Linked DNA regions of Homo sapiens: region 2 is linked to region 1. The links are contacts of gene promoters, found by promoter capture Hi-C in human tissues and cell types (Jung and others, 2019). All regions are on one chromosome and are shown on one strand. Each heading gives the region's core, a stretch centred on a gene start or on the middle of the fragment in contact. The rest is flanking DNA. Distances are from core to core; before and after follow the strand shown. Region 1 holds the start of MARK1 (microtubule affinity regulating kinase 1). Region 2 has its middle 8.9 kb from the start of LINC02779.

Region 1 (6,844 bases), core at 387-2,886:
TTTTCAGAAGGTGGAAATACAAGGGATCTTGTTCTTTTCGTTTTTCAAGAGTTTAAAAGCCCGGCACATCTGCATCTTGATAACAGCTCCAGAGGGCAATCTGATCAAAGACACAGAAAATCCCTCCTTTAAAGATGTGCACCTTGTGACACTCCAAGGAGGAGAGATATTTAAAGTAAAACCTGCCCTGCATCATTATCACTGACTTAAGGAAGAGATTAAAAAGCCCTTGGCTTCATGTGGCTTTTCAACATTTTGCTGTAACCCCAGGGCCATAGATGCTGTTCGTGAAATTCTTCTACTCATCCCTACTAAGAGTGTCACAGCAGTATAAACTCATACACAAACACGCACACATCTCCACTTCCATTCCCATCCTTCTCGCTTTGGTGCCCATGACCCAAAATGTGGACACAATGTTACAAAAAGCAAAGTCATGGGGCAATGCGGGGGGAGGAGGGGAGAGTGCAAAGGATTGAAAGATCCAGAAAAGCAAGAGTGTGAGAGGTAGCCGGCTCGTCTGCTATTGTAAAGCAAGCATTCATTCGGGTGGGGGCACAGAATGCAGAGGTAGAAATAAAGCAATCCTGACTGCCCACTCTGCCATCCCATTCTGCTTCTCTGCCCTCCATCACCCCATCCGCCCCTGGAGGACCACCTCCGAGCGAGAGGGCGCCACTTACGGTTCCCTACCCTCACCCTTGAGGGGAAACAAGCGAAATGGGGTTGGAATGAAGAATAGGGCTGAGCAGTGGGTGAGGGTCACGCCGGGCTCCAGGTGGAGACCCTGCCGCGGGTGGCCGCGCCGAGGCACGGGGGACGGCCCAAGCGCGGGTGAAGTGGGGATCAGAGGAGGGTCTCGCCCCCACTGCTCCCGAGGGAGGCTCCGGTTACTCACATTTTCCGTGTCCCGCTCGTTCACCGTCGGCAATGGCGTCCGGGCCGACATTTTGTGCGGGCAGCGGGGTCTGGCCGGGGTCTCGCCGGCCGGGCTGTGGTGCGGGCCCCGGGGGGCGACAGGAAAGGGGTGCGGACGCGAGCACAAGGCCGGGGCGAGCGGCTCCCGCAGGCCGCGGGGCGGTGCAACAAGCGGCCCCGGCGGGGGAAAGAGGGAAGAGGACGCGGAGGAAGAGGAGGGGGAGCCGCTTCCCGCGGCGGCGCCGCCGGGGTATGCGGACAGTAACGAGGGAGGGCTTCGGGCGAGGCGGTTGCCCGGCGCTGGCGGGGCGGCGAGGCTGGCAGGATGAGGCGTGGAAGGGGAGCCGGGAGGCGGTGGCGAGCCCCGCTAGGCTCTCCGGACCATGGGTGAAGGTGAAGCCGGTGCCTCAAATCACTGCCTGGCTCGTCCTGGCGAGCGCCTGGGCGTCAGGAACCGCGGCCCTGACAGCGTCACCCGCGCCGCGCCCCGTTCTCCGCCTCAGGTGTACGGCGCCGCCCGACCCAGCCGCATCCACGCGCCCGGGGCCCAGCGGCGGCGGCGCCCGATCCCCCGGCGCGAATGTCTCGGCTCGGTCCGCGCGGTCACAGCCACCGCCGCCGCCGCGCCTCAGTCAGGAGGAGCGGCCCGAGCCGGCTGCGCGCGGAGCAGCGGGCGCGGCACGCAGCGCCCAGAGGCACTTGGCGGCCGCCGCCGGGTGGGCGGGCGCCAGCCGAGGGGGCCTCTCCATTCATTCCCTCATTAGGGATGCGGGGCCGCCTCCTCCTCCTCCTCCTCCTCCTTTTTCTCCTCCTCCTCCTCCCGCGCTCTCTTGCCCGCCTGTCCCTGTGTTTATTTTTGTTTCGTGCCCCACCCGCAGAGTTTACGGTCGTCTAAGAGCCTCTGGTGGTTTTATTTTTATTCGTGTTTGGTTTTTGCCGGGTTGAGGGTGAGAGAGAGCTGATGTGAATCAGTGGCTTTTTTTTTTCTTTTTCTTTCTTTCTGTTTTTGTTTGTTTGTTTGTTTGTTTGTCCGTTTCATTGGAGAAGAATTGGATTCAATCCTACCCTGGATCCTACCCCTCCTTTTCTCCTACCTCGGGACTTTTACCATTCTTAAATTCTACTCCTCCTCCCCCGTTTCCACGCTTTCTCAATCCCTATCCTCGCCTGAGCCCTCTGTCAGTCTCCTTCTCTAGGGAGCCGTTAGGTTCAGGGTCACCCTCAGAGTTTGGCAAAAAGCACAGAAGCCCCTAGAAGCGCCAGCAGCCTAGGGAGGCGGCTGGAGACTCAGTACAAGTGGGTCTCAGCCCCCGACGGCGCGGCCTCTTCGGGAATGGGGCCGGCGGAAGACGTCTCGCTCTGGGCGCCCTGCAGCACCCTCGGAGTGGGTGAGACCCGCGAGTCACAACATCTACACTGGCTGATCGTCACTTCCTGGGACACAAGGAAGTGTCACTTAGGCGAGCCTGTTTAGGGAGGATGGAGAGCTGTGTCTGATTTGGGCCCTGTCCTCCCTCTTCCAGGTGGCTTCCTCACACTTCCACCCACCTGCCTCAAGACATCCTGTAGGCACCCGCGTCTGTAGTGCATTGTCCAGGACCCATTCGCCTTTTATAAGCAAGGCTGCATTTTTTTTTAATCTCATTTGAGAGCTTACATTTTGCACATTCAGCCTGTAGAACGAAAACCTTATCGTCTCTCTATTCTTCTTTGCAACATTTCTTTTTCACTTCCTTTCATGGATGGGCAGGAAGACAAAAGGAATGAAAGATAGGAGCGGATACATTGATTTTCTGAGCTGCTTCAGTATGCCTCCAGTGGAATTCTTATAATGGTGGGAAATTTCTCGTCTCTTCTGAATTTCCTCCATTTGAAAGAAGAATCCCTGAACCAGATGGTTTTTATCCTGACTCATTAAAGGTTGTTTCTGAAAAGTTAACACTTGACCCTTGAAGCATGGGTCCAAAAGACCTGAAAATAGCAAACACAAAAATCCTTTGAGGAAAGAAGCAATTCTCACCCAGTCTATATTCACTTCTAGAACACCATCTGTGTACTTATTTCTTTAGCATTTTCTCTTGTAACCACTTACCAATTTCACAAAGCAAATGAAAAAAAAAAAAAAAACAAGATCCCTTTGGTGGTCATCACCACTTCTCAAACAGAATTTAGGCAGCGGAACTGCAATGCTGCCTCCTGAACTATGATGTGTTACTGAGAATGTCAAGCATTTACGTGCCCTCTGCAGAAAATCCTGAATCACCAAGATACATTGAAGTTGCAAGGGCATAATCCTGTATTTTTCTGGTTATTTTCTGGTTAACTATTGCGACGGCTGCCTGTAGGGGCTGCCATCACAGTGTCAGCGGCATCACTGACTGCTGCAGCCACACAAGGGTACCTAGTGTTGCAATAGTACCTGAGTTAACCTAGCAATAAACAAGTAGCTGTGAAAAGGCGTTCAGCCCCATTGGAATATGAATCATTCCTTCAGCTGGTAGTATGTATTTTGCTCTTTAAAGTATACTCACATATTTTTCTATCTTTATAATCGTGGTGACCCTGACAGGCATATTTATTTCCATTTTACAAAATTCCACTAAGTTAACTTGTTCAAGATCACAGATGCACCAGGTTAATAAGATACAGAAGAAGATAACTGAAATATGTGGTGCTGTTCAATCTTGCACCAGTCACAAAAACCATAGGTTCACCCCATAAGATATAATGGCTAATTCGAGACAGAGCTTAAAGGAGAGCCCCAGATTCTGGCACAGTGGCTTCCACAGATTTTAAAGTGTCTGTTAAAAGCCATGGACAAATCCCTTAGCTATATTTGCTACACAATGCTCACTATTTCACATATTGAAATTTACGGAATATCACATAATAATAGGAAGGGATATTTATTGTTTAAGTCAATCCCCAAGAACACTTCTAACAGTGAAACTACATTCAAAGAGAGTCATTACTAGGTAGCTCGAATCCATAATTCTAGCTAGCCAAATTGTTTTTTTGGATAGAACAATTCTATCCAAAAGAAAATGCCATTCAAATAATCCTTATTAATACCTAACAATTTTAAGCTTGGTATGTAGTGAAAACTAAGTGAAAATGCACTTTGCCCAGGTTAAAAAAAAAGTCACTATGTTTTTCAAAAGGAAATACTGTCTGTCCCTATATGAGCTCTTCTCCCCTTAAAATGGCATTAGTAGATCCTTAAACATGGGAGAGGAAAAAAAAATGACATGAGGCATTATTGTGATGGAGTCAATACTGTTTAACCCTAGTCCTTAGAAATGAAAATGCTCATGAGCAAAATTTTTTTGTGTTACTATATATAGCTTCTGTGTCTGTGACTATGGAGAAATGACAAAGGGAATATTTTAAGGCTTTGAGTAATTTTTTTTTGGGTTATTAACCAAATGTGGCATGTTCAATTCACAGGTTCCTAACTTAATGTGTTAGGGTAATGAAAGTTTTGGAAGAAAATTGAAGTACTGACAAAACAAAAGGGAAATAAAGATCTAAAAGGTGCTAAACCTACAGTGAAAAGTGGGAAAAGAGCATTGCCTACCGTCAGCCCTATGGAGTAGAATTTTTTAGAACTACCGGGTCCAGTACCAGTTACATGTGACTACTGAGCTCTTGACATGTTGCTTGAATTTTTAATTTGACTCAATTTCAAATAATTTACACTTAAAAACCGATTTGATTCAGTGACTGAAAAAATTGTGTTATGTTTGAAAGTATGTTAAGTATATGAATCTACTTTTTCAACTGTAAATTTTCTGAAATCTATATACCGATTAAGTATTTCTCATGGAAATGTATTACCTGAATTGGGATGTGCTATAAATATAAAATGCACACCACATTTTCAAATAGTAGGAAAAAAAAGAGAGTAAGATGTCTCTTTATAAATATTATAACCATTTCATATTGAAATGCCAATATTTTAATATATTAGGTTAAATAAAATATATTATTAAATCATTTTCAACTGTTTCTTTTTTACTTTTTCAAATGCAGATCCTAAAAAATATAAACTTACATATGTGGTTTACATTACATTATCTCTCTGTTGGACAGTACTTCTCCATATGGTCAAAGCTGAGAATAAAAAGGCTTAGTTGCTTAAGAATCAAAGGCCTTGATTATAAGCTATTAATAATTCATTCTGTGGTAGAGTGGCACCCAATAAATGCTTGTTGGGCACCATTCTACCACATGCCATGCTGTGCTGTTCTAGGGGAATATTCTTCACCTAATAGTTAGCGGCAGTCAGTCTTACGCATTCTTTTTAAAGAGCAAAGTGGAAAACATGTTGAATTCATACAAATGAGCATTAACAGATTGCAGTCATTTGTAAACAAAGAATTTATCAAATGTGACAGATTCAGCAGATTAATAGTAAACTCTTAAAACTGCACATGTCTTTATATCATGTGCTTTAGATGTATCCAATGTCTGATAGACTTGGCCAGTCAATAATTATTTGCATACTTTGTTTTAGGTACTACAAGGCTATTTACAATCTTTCATTTAGCCACACAGGAAAACTACAGGATAGACAGTTCGGTAAGGTAACAAAGAGCAGTCTCAGCTAAAGAGAAACAAGGTTAATGTCCATCAGGAAAGAATAATCAGTCCTTGTCACAAATAAACTGGGTCCTGATTGCCTGCCTGTCTGGCAAGGTGAATTTTTATTGTGTCAACATTCACTACTTAAAATATAGAATCACTGAAATGGACAAGATCCTCAAAAGAAACGATATATCGTATTTTTAAAACTGCTTAAAGCTGTTGCCTTTTACATTGTATATATTGTCATAGAAGGACTGAAAAGTCCTTGTGATAATTTAACTTATACTTGTCTTCATAGCCATCAGCATATACATAAACTGTCAGACCCAGCAAGGGTCAGCTCAATGCTTTTTTTGGTTATGCCACTCCACACCTCACAAACATAACCTCCAAGAGTTGTTTACTCTTCTGTTTCCCACAAGCACTGTAGGTTCAGCGATGTTCGTTTTCTTGGAATTCCCCGAACACACCATATTGCTTGACTCCTCCGTGCATTTGTGTCATCTGTTCTGTCTTCCTGGAATGTCCTCTCCTCTTTTCTGCCTGATGGCCTCAGAGTTGGTCTTTAAAAACCTTCCTTTAGAAACCTATCCTGACACCACTGTTTCTCCCCACACCCACAGTTAATTAATCACTCCCTGTGCACTACCTCTGTACCTTGGACATACCTCTACTGTTGCTCTCCTTGCACTGTGTACCTGGCTGGTCCCCTATCCACCTGTGCACTAGGAAAAGGAAGGGAATATGTCTTATTTATTTTTGCCTAGAACCTAGCACAGTGCTTAGCAATTAGTAGATGCCCAATTTCCTAAATGACTTTTATTGACTTGTATGTTCTCCTGAACTTTCACATTCTTTTAAATTTCTAAGAAGCATCATTGAAAATATAGGAGAATTGAAAATATAGGAGGATAATTAAAGTCTACAACTGGGGGATATAAGAGTTTACATAGTATGCAAAGTATCTTCCCAGTAAATGTTATTGACTGGGTAGCAAAGTGACTCTATTCTGTCTCCTACAGATTACCATAGTGCCACTAATTTTACTGCTCTGTGATTTTACTGTAATTATTCATTTTTATCCATACATAGGAATTGCTGATCATTGATATTTCAATAAGTCTTTTAAATGAGTATCTGCATAAACCAAGGTGTACTGTACTTGGTCAGGAGGAAACACTTCAAAAGTAGGTTGAAAAATTAAAAATGGAATGACACGACAATGAAGTGCTAGAGGCAATAGAGCTGGCGGTCAACCCCAGGGAACAGTCATCAGAAATTGGGTGACTCTTCCTAAGTGAAAGCCTTTCAGCAGACTGAGCGTCACAGTGTCACTTGG
Region 2 (6,935 bases), core at 3,686-6,185, 51 kb after region 1:
ACATATGCATGCATGCATCCTTATAATAGAATGATTTCTATTCCTTTGGGTCTATACCCAGTAATGGAATTGCTGTGTCAAATGGTATTTCTGGCTCTAGGTCTTTGAGGAATGGCCACACTCTTTCAGAATGACTGAACTAATTTATATTTCCACCAACAGTGTAAAAGCATTCCTATTTTTCTGCAGTCTCGCCAGCATCTGTTGTTTCTTGACTTTTTAATAATTGCCATTCTGACTGGCATGAGATGGTATCTCATTGTGGTTTTGATTTGCATTTCTCTAATGACCAGTGATGTTGAGTTTTTCATATGTTTGTTGGCCATATATATGTCTTCTTTTGATAAGTGTCTGCTCATGTCCTTTGCCCAATTTTTAATAGGGTTGTTTGTTTTTTTCTTGTAAATTTGTTTAAGTTTCTTGTAGATTCTGGATATTAGACCTTTGTCAGATGGATAGATTGCAAACATTTTATCTCATTCTGTAGGTTGTCTGTTCGCTCTGATAAGTTTCTTTTGCTATGCAGAAGCTCTTCAGTTTAATTAGATTCCATTTGTCAATTTTTGCTTTGTTGCAATTACTTTTGATGTTTTCATCATGAAATCTTTGCCTGTGCCTATACAACACATGCTTTTAACTTTCTCTGCTTCAAGCAATAGGAGTGAGCATTAAGTAACACCTATGTGATGATCCTACAGAAGTCAGACTTCCGCTCTTAAAAGCTCTGGCTTCTCCTCTAGAATGAATAGTTCTGATAATAGGAGTCCTAGAAAGTGGGCCACCTAGTATTTCTCTACTGCTCAGCATAGAAATGACAAATGACTCAGCATCCAGAATGTGAAGTTGTGGCCCACATTCTAGGACTCCTGTTATCGCAACTTTTCATTCTAGAGGAGAAGCCATAGCTTTAAGAGGAAAAGTCTGACTTCTGCAGGATCTTCACCAGGCGTCACTTATCCTCACTCCTATTGCTTGAGGCAGACAAAGTTAAGAGCATGTCTTGTAACATTCATTAAATTTTTCTCACACCTCTGCTGGACCATGTAACTTTACTTTACCAGAGCATGTAAAGATCCAAAAAATGTTAGGCGATTGTTTTGATGATCACTTTACTTTTGGCTGTTGTAATGAGTGTTTACCAGCAAGTGGTACCACTAGTGGTTCAAATTCTGACTCTGTCACTTAGCAGTTGTGTCATTTTGGATAAACTACTTAACTTCTATATGTCTCGGTTTCCTCATCTAAAAAGTAGGGATAAAAATGGTACCTACCGGCCAGGCGCAGTAGCTCACGCCTGTAATCCCAGCACTTTGGGAGGCCCAGGCAGGCAGATCATGAGGTCAGGAGTTCGAGACCAGCCTGGCCAATACAGTGAAACCCCATCTGTAACAAAAATACAAAAATTAGCTGGGCATGGTGGCATGCACCTGTAGTCTCATCTACTCAGGAGGTTAAGGCAGGAGAATCACTTGAACCTGGGAGGCGGAGGTTGCAGTGAGCTGAGATCACACCACTGCACTCCAGCCTGGGCAACAGAGTGAGAACCCGTCTCAAAAAAAAAATAGTATTTACCTCATAGGGCATTGTAAGGGTTCACTGAGTTTATGTGAAAGCACTGGGTTAATTCATGTCTGGCACCAGAGTAAGTATTCCATATGAAAGAAGTTATTATTATTTAGGATTGTGCATCCAAGTGGAGTAATGGGGAAACGTTCCGACATAGCTCGTTTGCTCTAATAGCATTTGAAATTTCCTTTTCTTCAATGGTGGCTGAAGACATGCAGAAACAACTTCCTGGCATGTCTGAAAGATCATGAGATAACTAACAGAGCTTTTTTGTCTATCTCAACAAAAAAAATCGGAATAAACTATCACGTAGCCCTTCAGGTTACTGTGTACAGAGTCATCCACACAGATGACTGAATACTGAATTTCCTTTGGGTGGTTTGATTGCCCCATCTAGACCTGACCTGAGAGTGCTGACATCCATCAAGGCGCAGACCAGGCAGTCATGATGCTTCAAAAGGAGCAAAAGAACTAAGTGCTACTGAGCAGAACTCTGTGCCAACATGAAAATAACTGTTAAGAATCCTTTTCTGTTCATATATGGGGTAAATTTCAGAGGCTAGGTTAAGAAACGACATTACACCAAATTGCAACGATCCAGTTGCAGCTTGAGAAGAAAGCACTGAGATGAAATATTTGTTTCCTCATGAGAGGTTATTATCTCTGGCAGCCTTCTGAGTGATTTGTTAAAATGGAACACAAACCAAAAGATGAATCCGATGAGACTTCCTAGTTGTTACAAATGGGGCAAGGTATAAATTGTGAGGCTGACTGGTTCTTTTCACATGTACTTGGGCAACAGCACAGGTGTCCTCTGGGCAAAGAAGGAAATAGATTGCTGTTGAAGGAATATATATATTTTTTAAATGTCACAGCCTGAGTCCCAAATAATGACCTTGATGTGCCCCTGCCAAAAAAAAAAAAAAAAAAAAAGAAGAAGAAGAAGAAAAATTTCCTGAGCACCTTCACCTTGAGCTTTTGGCCTGAAACAAAACCTTCACTTGCCTCTGAGAAAGAGCTTCCCTTTCCAGATGGAAATCTGTGTAGACACCTAGTTGGCCAACATGCTTTCTTGTAGCTCCAAAAAAAGATCAGGCACAGAAAGACAAACTTTGCATGTTCTCACTCATTTGTGGGAGCTGAAAATTAAAACACTGGAACTCATGGAGATAGTAGAATGATGGCTACCAGAGGCTGGGAAGGGTAGTGGAGAGGGGAAATGGGAAATGGGGGTAGTTAACGGGTACAAAAATAGAATTCGATACAATGAGTAAGATCTAGTATTTGATAGCACAACAGAGTGACCACAGCCAGCAATAATTTGTTGGACATTTTAGAATAACCAAGGGAGTACAATTGGAATGTTTGCAACACAAAGAAATGATGAATTCTTGAGGTGATGGAAACCCCATTTATCTTTTTTCAATGTCACAGCCTGAGTTCCAAATAATGACCTTGAAGCGCCCCTGCCAAAAAAAAAGGAGAAAATTTCTTGGTGTGATTATTACACATTGTAGGTCTGTATCAAAATATCCCAGGCACCCCATAAATATAGATACCTACTATGTACCCATTAAAATTAAAAATTAAAAAAAAGATTAAAATATGCCAGGAAGAAGAGTTGGCAGCCCCACTACTTCCACAGAAAAAAGGAAAACAAATTTTTATTCCCTCAGCTCACCACAGTCTTTCCAAGAGTTTATGATAGTCAGTATCTTATTGAAAGATTCATTAATTGAGTAAATGTCCAGCAGTAAAATTGAGTAGACAATAAAAGGTTATGTACATGCTATCGTATAAATTAAAAATTAAAACAACCTATTAATTTCAGCAAAATGAATATGTTTCCTTGGGCATCAATGTATTTCAGTTCAAAATATTTGGAGGCCTGCGATGTCTATAAAGTATCCTCAACTAGCATCTTCAATTTCCTAAGAGAAAGCCTGGTTTTAAAATATATATAAAACTTTCTTTTTTCTTTCTTTCTTTCTTTTTTTTTTTTTTTTGAGACCGAGTCTCTCGCCCTGTCACCCAGGCTGGAGTGCAATGGTGTGATCTTGGCTCACTGCAACCTCTGCCTCCTGGGTTCAAGCAATTCTCCCGCCTCAGCCTCCTGAGTAGCTGGGACTACAGGTGCCCGCCACCACACCTGGCTAATTTTTTGTATTTTTAGTAGAGATGGGGTTTCGCCATGTTGGCCGGGCTGGTCTCAAACTCCTGACCTCGTGGTCCACCTGCCTCAGCCTCCCAAAGTGCTGGGATTACAGGTGTGAGCCACCACACCTGGCCAAAATAATATAAAACTTTCTAGATTCATTTCCATTTTTTTTGCTATATATTTACTCACAACTTGCTTGGTGGCTAAAGAAACTTAAAAATCCCTTGCGAGCTTTGGATTAATTTAATAATCAAAAGACAACTCCAGGTTTTATTAAATGTCCCACTGTATACTATTTGGCTATCTTTTTTTTTTTTTAAGTACAAGGACTGAGCCTGAGAGTAATAATGAAAATTATGATTATTACCACTAATAATAATATTATCAGTAGGAAAATTCTCTATATGTATTCAATCAAATATATTTTCAGGGGGTAAATTTAACCCTAGAAAATAGCTGAATATTATGCAGAATGGTGTGCTCCCGCTATAAGGCATGAATGGAGTTCATCACTATCACTGGTGAATGGAACTGAGAGGAGCATGGAAGGACTCAAGCTGGGATTATCATCCAGAGAAGTAGGAGTATAGCAGATCTAGAAGCAAAAGGACACAAAGAGTAGGCATTGAGAAAGATGGAAACCTAATCACAGGTTCTAGAGAATTCCCCAACACAGTTTCAGGCCCTGCCCTCAGTGCTTCATAGAACAAGTAGGATGAGACTTGTACCAGCACACATACATCTTCTGGACCTGGCTGTCAGAGACACAGGGGCTGGGCATGGCTGAAGCAAGGCACAGACTGATGGACACTGATTCAGGAAATATCTACTTGTCACCAGGATAGCAGGTCAAGTGAATTGGTTTGACCAAATAACCAGTTAATTTGATATAAAAGGGTCAGATTGGTGGTTTGAAATTCATTAGTCGGTATTCAAAGCGAAGAAAACTGTAGCCTGTACAAACTTATAAATAGGTTTTTGGTCTAGCTATCAGGGTAAAAGAGCTGCAAAATTCATCTGAAAAGTAATAAAGCATATACAAATGTCAAATATTATCACTATGCTATTATTTTCCTGCACCTCCATTATTGGATTCATTTATTCTAAGTATCACACTTCCAGTCTGGGCATGAAAGCTAAATTACTGTATTGCAGAAAATGTACATTTTGGGACCTACCCTGGATTGTTTTAGCATGCAAATAAAACTATATTAATTGCCACTGATGGCAGTCATGGATTTCTTAGGACTTTTTATCTGCAACCAAACTAATTGGCCTTGAATCCATTCTGACAACATTTTAATTATTCACTAGTTAATAATTCTTAAAAGCAACTTCAACATTAAAATGTCTCTAAGAGCATGTATAAAGCTATTCAATCCCAAATAATAATTTTATACAATATTCATATCAACCTAAATATTCTCTGCGATCTTTATAAATTTATGTAACATATTTTTGTATTCAGAAAATAACCTTAAAATTCTATGGCTGTGTATAGCACCCTTTGCATGATATGTATGCATATTCCCCAAACGCCTTGTTTATTCACATAGTTTGAGTTTCTCTGATGTCAATTTAAAAAGAAAATGAATTGAGAAATCATTTTTTTTTTAAAAAGCCTAGTTCCTACTGTTTGTACAACTATACGATGGAGAGTATGAAGAAACACAAGTACTACACTCTGTTGGAGGTCTGCTCATATCCCCCAAAGAAACCTTTACAACGAGTCAACACAGGAAAACAATTGAAAGTAAAAAATATATATAAATGCCACTAGACAATAATAGATTTGTTTCCCGACTTAAGCTGGGATCCCCAGATGAGGATTTGTGTGAAAGTGATTTGGGGAGTAGGAAAGTAGGACCAGGAAGGGAAATCCCATAAAGGGTAACTTCCGCTCAGTCTTTCAGTCTTTGGAGACCATGTTCTGGTCCGGGGCCAGGGAGCTGGGGTAATTATTCCTCCTGTCCATCAGCCCTTAAGATGAGGCACCCTGGGTCGGGAGAGTGATGGCCACTTATATTAAATAAATTTCCAGGCACTTCCTGCTGTCTGCACTAGCAGGAAAAGTGGGTCATCACTGCTTAAAAGTAGCCTTACAACAGAGAGATGTGGGTGCTTGCTCTAAGGAGTGGAAGCTCACACTGAGAGGTGACAGCGTGCTGGCAGTCCTCACAGCCCTCACTTGCTCTTGGCGCCTCCTCTGCCTGAGCTCCCACTTTGGCGGCACTTGAAGAGCCCTTCAGCCCACCGCTGCATTGTGGGAGCCCCTTTCTGGGCTGGCCAAGGCCGGAGCTCACTCCCTCAGCTTGCGGGGAGGTGTGGAGGGAGAGGCGCGAGCAGGAACCGGGGCTGCGTGCGGAGCTTGCGGGCCAGCTGGAGTTCTGGGTGGGCGTGGGCTTGGCGGGCCCTGCACTCGGAGCAGCCGGCCGGCCCCGCACTCGGAGCAGCCGGCCGGCCCTGCCGGCCCCGGGCAGTGAGGGGCTTAGCACCCGGGCCAGCGGCTGCGGGGGGTGTACTGGGTCCCCCAGCAGTGCCGGCCCACCGCCGCTGTGCTCGATTTCTCGCCAGGCCTTAGCTGCCTTCCCACGGGGCAGGGCTCGGGACCTGCAGCCCGCCATGCCTGAGCCTCCCACCCTCTCCGTGGGCTCCTGTGCCGCCCGAGCCTCCCCGACGAGTGCCGCCCCCTGCTCCACGGCGCCCAGTCCCATCGACCCCCCAACGGCTGAGGAGTGCGAGCGCACAGCACCGGGACTGGCAGGCAGCTCCACCTGCAGCCCCCGTGCTGGATCCACTGGGTGAAGCCAGCTGGGCTCCTGAGTCTGGTGGGGATGTGGAGAGTCTTTATGTATAGCTCAGGGATTGTAAATACACCAATCGGCACTCTGTATCTAGCTCAAGGTTTGTAAACACACCAATCAGCACCCTGTGTCTAGCTCAGGGTTTCTGAATGCACCAATCGACACTCTGTATCTAGCTACTCTGGTGAGGTCTTGGAGAACCTTTATGTCTAGCTCAGGGATTGTAAACGCACCAATCAGCGCCCTGTCAAAACAGGCCACTGGGCTCTACCAATCAGCAGGATGTGGGTGGGGCCAGATAAGAGAATAAAAGCAGGCTGCCCCAGCGAGCAGAGGCAACCCTCTGGTTTCCTTTCTACTGTGTGGAAGCTTTGTGTTTTTGCTCTTTGCAATAAATGTTGCTATTG

What was found. The method cuts DNA at HindIII sites, captures the fragments that hold promoters and counts their contacts. A contact is called where the count stands out against the background at its distance.
Region 2: a contact is called between a fragment that was not itself captured here and the fragment with the promoter of MARK1 in region 1, in 1 of the 25 tissues and cell types used here (aorta).

Annotation. Positions count from the first base shown.
Region 1 is chr1:220,522,928-220,529,771 of GRCh38, reverse strand. It overlaps MARK1 (microtubule affinity regulating kinase 1), which reads right to left and starts at 1,636. Exons shown (of 18, transcript NM_018650.5): 1 at 899-1,636. The coding sequence starts at 949. RefSeq lists a silencer at 1,273-1,572. The HindIII fragment of the contact is 13,581 bases long and covers 1-5,880 here.
Region 2 is chr1:220,475,197-220,482,131 of GRCh38, reverse strand. No RefSeq gene overlaps it. Among named protein-coding and RNA genes, the nearest start is that of LINC02779, 8.9 kb to the left of the region's middle. The HindIII fragment of the contact is 5,947 bases long and covers 1,962-6,935 here.